2 separate regions of the Homo sapiens genome follow, and region 1 is linked to region 2. Evidence: promoter capture Hi-C in human tissues and cell types (Jung and others, 2019). All regions are on one chromosome and are shown on one strand. The core of a region is centred on a gene start or on the middle of the fragment in contact, and the rest is flanking DNA. Distances in the headings are between cores, read along the strand shown.

Region 1 (2,700 bases), core at 66-2,565, 310 kb before region 2:
ACTAATGGGTAATAGGCTTAATACCTCAGTGACAAAATAATTTGTACAACAAACCTCCATGACGCTAGTTTACCTATGCAACAAACCTGCACGTGTACCCCTGAACTTAAATACAACTTTTTTAAAAAGCCCCAAAAGGTTTATGCTTATTCAGCCAGACCCTGTTCTAAGTGCTTTACATATATTAACTCGTTTAATCCTCATAACAGCCCTACAAGGTAGGCAATATTATTGTCCCCATTTCATAGATGAGTGTTCTCAACTGAGGCACAGAGAGGTTAAGAAACTTGCCTAAGCTTGCACAGCTAGTGGGTGGCCAGGCAAGATTCAAGCCCAGGCAGAATGGCTTCAGTCTGTGCCCTTCACACAGGTCTGTGAATCCTGATGGTGGCTAAGTGTTAAGAAAAAAATAAACAGGATGGTGATATATTAAGTACCTGGGGGAAAACATTCCCCATGTGCTGGTCACCGAAGGTTATCTAAGAGGCAGCATTTGAGTAAGAACCTGAAAGACGACCAGGAGCCAGCTACCCAAAGAGTGGGGTAGGGAGCAGGGCCTGGCCTTCCAGGGAGAGGAAGCAGGAAATGTGAATAATATGTGATGAAGACAAAGAGGATGTGGCAGGAGCAGTGAGAAGCCACCCGCAGTCTTTAAGCAGAGCAGTGATGTGAGCTGAGCTCTTTCTCCAGCCTGGGCTACTGGGTGATCCGCGGATGCGTGACCACCTGGAACATACGGAGCCCTGGAAGAGGGTTCTGTAGCTGGAGGGTAGGGGGTGACACGATTTCTGGTGGGGCTGGGTGGCAAAAGATAAGACTGGATGACCAGGGGGTCCTTATAGCCATCAGAAGGAATATGGACTTTTTGTCCCCAAAGCCAGGGAAGCCCTGAACAGGTTTTTAGCGAAAGTTACGGGATCAGATCTGGGATTTAGGAGAATCGCTCCAGCTGGAGTGGAGAATGCATCTGAGAGAGATAAGATCAGCACCCATTCACAGGGCTGCTGGAGACATCCTGGTGAAAGATGATGTGGCCTGAGTATGCCTGGCGCCCAGCAGTTGCTCACTCAGCTTCAGGCACTGTTGGGATAAGGGGCTGCCCTCATGACTTTTCATGAGGTAGTTATGAGGACAGGCTCCATGATCAGGTGAGGAATGAGAGAAAGGAGGGAGGGAAATGAGCTCTCTATCCCTGTTTCTGGCTTTGGGGAGGAGGAGGGAGCATGCTGTTTACTAGGAGAGGGAGCCTGGAGGCAGGATTGGCCAGTGAGGCAAGTTCAGTTTAGGACATACAGAATATGACAGTGGCCAAGGCGGAAAGCAGGAGGTGTAGATGTGGATAAAATTCAACAACTCCTCTAAGGATGGAAACAAAATATTGGAAGAGAAATGTATGTCTGAGCTGGGTGCGGTGGCTCACGCCTGTAATCCCAACACTGTGGCCAAGGTGGGTGGATCACCTGAGGTCAGGAGTTCAAGACCAGCCTGGCCAACATGGCAAAACCCCGCCTCTACTAAAAAATTAGCCGGGCATGGTGGTGGGTGCCTGTAATCCCAGCTACTCGGGAGGCTAAGGCAGAAGAATCGCTTGAACCCAGGAGGGGAGGCTGCAGTGAGCCGAGATTGTGCCACTGCACTATAGCCTGAGTAACAGAGACAGACTCTGTCTCAAAAAAAGAAAAAAAAATGTTGTAGGTCTGAACATTTCCTCATTGTCCATTACTAGGTGTTGCAGTCAAAACAAATCAGGACTAGAACTAGTCTGCGTGCAAAGAAACAATATGCCCTCTGAGGACCTCAGAACACAAGGAGATGGGCTCCAATTGCATTATCAAAAAATGGGGTTTTGCATTGGAATACGCCTCACAGACTTTAGAGAGGTACCTGAGAATCCCATTCGAACCTGGCTTCAGATCATCAAGTCTCCAGTCAGCTTGAAATAACACAGGTAGTTAAGACCAGCCTGGGCAACATGACAAGATCCCGTCTCTACAAAAAATACAAAAATTAGCAGCGTGTGGTGGGGTGTGCCTGTAGTCCCAGTTACTTAGGAGGCTGAGGCAGGAAGATCACTTGAGCCCAGGACGGGGAGGTTACAGTGAGCCGTGATCACACCATCACACTCCAGCCTGGGTGACAGAGTGAAACTCTGTCTCTATAACAAACAAACAAACAAACACAAAACAGGTAGTCCTTAACACCAGCGTTCAACTTTTTTCTCCAATGCTAACTGTATGCCCAATTCCCTTTCTATTGATGGTGAGGCCTTTTGAACTGTTGAAAATTTTTACCAGTGTTGTTTAGAAAACAACACAGGACCTGTGACTGGAAAAAGGTATAATTTTCAGTCAGTTGGAAGACAGGATGTGAGTGATTTCTTTTTATTACGAAGTTTGTAAGTCCTCAGAGCCTACCGGTCTCCGGAAAATGATGTTTCTAGATCTACCAAGTACTAGATCAACCATGGTGGGAGGAAAACCAGTCTCTCCCCTGAAGAGTGGATGGGTGCAGGTTGGAAATTCTAGAGAAAGACTTTACCCAGAAACAAGTCGGCTTTTGCTAAGTGGAGGCTCTTGCCAGCATCCCCTTTTATTTTATCACCGTGTTTTGACAATTCATGAAAAAAAATGTGTCTAAGAGCAAATTGAGCTCCTCAAGCAATAAACATTTAGACATACCCTGTGAATTGAGTTATTGTTC
Region 2 (2,700 bases), core at 121-2,620:
CCCGGGTTCAAGTGATTCTCTGGCCTCAGCCTCCTGAGTAGCTGGGATTACAGGCGCGCACCACCACGCCCAGCTAATTTTGGTGTTTTTAGTAGAGACGGGGTTTCACCATGTTTGCCAGGCTGGTCTCGAACTCCTGACCTCAGGTGATCTGCCCACCAAAGTGTGGGGATTACAGGTGTGAGCCACCGCGCCCGGCGGCCCTTCCTCCATGTTTCAGTTGGGCACAAACCCTTCGTAAGGCGACAGAAGGGAACTCTCAGGAGCACTGGGGCACGTCCGCAGAATGCCAACAGGTAGGAGCGGGGATAGGGGGCAGTTAGGTAAACTGGAGGGAAACAGGGTCAGTCGGGGGAAAACAAACAAAGCCTCGGGTTTTCCTGCAATTCCCACACCTGCATCCCTAAGGCTCCCAAGTGGTTACCGGAAAGAAGGCCGTGAGTGTAAGTTGCCCGGGTCCTTGGCGTTTTGAACAAAGAATTGGACAAAACGCACAAAAAAAGTAACAAAACACAGGAATGAAGCAGCAAAAGTAGGGACTTATGAACGCGAGAAAGCACTCCACAGGGTGTGAGTGGGCCCGAGCAAGCGGCTCGAGGCCCCGGTTACAAAGTTTTCCGGGTTTTAGGTACTCCTTCTGAGGTCCCTATCAGCTACCCCGTATCTGGATGAAGGGTTCGGTCTGTGGCTAAAGACTGAGGTGAACTGGCGCCCTATGCAGATGAAGGGATGGCCCGTGATTGGCCCACGGCCAATGCAGGGCACGTTCCCTTCCCATCTGAGAGGTGGTGGAAAGGCAGGGATGCGGGGAGAGCCGCAGCCTGAAGCCTTTGCTACTCGGTGGTGGGAAGATGAGGATTTTTCTTTTGGTTTGGCTTTTGGACGTGGGCGTTAATTGGCCTCAGGTTCCCGCCCCCAGACCCAGGTGTTTTCCTTTTGATCCAGCTTTGGGAAGTCAGCACGAATTGTACTCAAGTTCCCTGCTCTCAGACCCTATTCTCCAGCCTCAACAGTGAGACGCCAAGGGTTGGATCTAAGGGGGCCTACCAGGGGTAGTGGCAGGACACTCGCTAAGCCCCGTCCCCGCCCCGAATCCTCTGAGTATCGTCACCCTCACCCCAAAACCCCGACACACATACTCTCACTCTTACATCCCGACCCCCACGACCGCAGGGTCCTCACCACCAGCAGGTTCCTGTCCTCCACCAGCTGCCGCTTCCGAAGGATCTCTGATTTCAGAATGTCCATCTCGCCGCCAGAATTTAAGCTCCAGTTTCCCGCTCCAGCTCCTCGAACCCAGCCTCACTGGGCCGGCGGCCGCGAACCCACTGAGTATACGGAACAACAAGCCCAAACACCTGAGAACAACTGACAGGAGCCGCTTCCGGCGGAAGCTGGGATGAGAGAGATGAGGGAAGAGAGTGGCCCGGGGCGCCTGTGGTGGCCAAAGCAGCTGTGCGTGAGTGCCCACTGGCGGCGCCCTCCGGCAGCGCGCCTGTAGTTTCCCCTCGTAGGGAGGTTTACGTGAACGTGGACGGAAACCCGGGTCTTTGTAGTACTCTCTGCACCTGCTAGTTGAGTTCCAAAAGCCTCTCGAAGAACACCTCAATAATGCCAGTTAAATCAAGATCTTTATTAACTGGAAATTTACATTAGGGTTTCTGAAGTTACTTGCTTGCAAAATTTGCAAAAGGATGAGAAAAATCTAAACAATAATACTAACTTGTAACAATAGAGTGAAAGGGCTGTCTGTTCATTACTAGCCTGTTAAATTTCCTGTGAACTTAAACGACTACAACCATTTAAAGCAGTTTGGAAGTCAATTTATCTTCACTCCCTCTGTTTTAGATTGCTTACCAATCTTGGTGATAATTGAACATTTACCTCAAGCTAACTAATCATTTTTTGGTCATGTGTTCAGCAATCAAGATTTTTCAGTGACATGATTGGAGATGTAATCAGAAATTCCTTTTTTTTTTTTAAATCCAACCCAAGGGAAAAAAAGTTAAATTGAAGAGAAAAATTATGTCAGAGATTTTTTAAGTCCCTAACATTTGTTTACAGTGGACTTATTTTTTTCATGTCATTGAAGCACGTTTAAAAATTGTTTTTGTGAAATCATAATTGAACAATATTTGACATTTCGTTTTTCTTACTCAAAAAAGGTAAGAAATATCATTTTGTTGAGTCAGCTGATAATGGGTAAAATGCTTTACAAAACAAAAAAATGAACAATTGAATTATTTCAATTTAGAAAGTCTTTTGTGGGGGGTGATACTTCATCTAAAAGATATCTGAGGCCAGACGGGGTGGCTCACCCCTGTAATCCCAGAACTTTGGGAGGCCGAGGTGGACAGATCACCTGAGGTCAGGAGTTCAAGACCAGCCTGGCCAGCATGGTGAAATCCCGTCTCTACTAAAAATACAAAAATTAGCCAGGCGTGGTGGCAGGTGCCTATAGTCCTAGCTACTCAGGAGGCTGAGACAGGAGAATTGCTTGAATCCGGGAGATGGAGGTTGCAGTGAGCCGGGATCATGCCACTGCAGTCCAGCCTGGGTGATAGAGCAAGACTTTGTCTCAAAAACAAAACAAAATAAAATAAAATATACCTGACTTTTGCCAGAAATAAGCCAACACAGGAAAATGTCCTTGAACTAAATATGGCAACACTCTTGCATGAATATGGGTTTCCCTCACTA

The links. Contacts are between HindIII fragments. The study calls those that stand out against the background at their distance.
Region 1: a fragment that was not itself captured here is called in contact with the fragment with the promoter of PRPF18 in region 2 in 1 of the 25 tissues and cell types used here (adrenal gland).

What each region holds. Positions count from the first base shown.
Region 1 is chr10:13,892,511-13,895,210 of GRCh38, reverse strand. The region is part of intron 2 of FRMD4A (FERM domain containing 4A); the gene reads left to right. Among named protein-coding and RNA genes, the nearest start is that of FRMD4A-AS2, 98 kb to the left of the region's middle. The HindIII fragment of the contact is 3,951 bases long and covers 1-2,700 here.
Region 2 is chr10:13,585,635-13,588,334 of GRCh38, reverse strand. PRPF18 (pre-mRNA processing factor 18) reads right to left here and starts at 1,370. Exons shown (of 10, transcript NM_003675.4): 1 at 1,183-1,370. The coding sequence starts at 1,248. RefSeq lists enhancers at 305-900, 1,076-1,415. The HindIII fragment of the contact is 7,227 bases long and covers 1-2,700 here.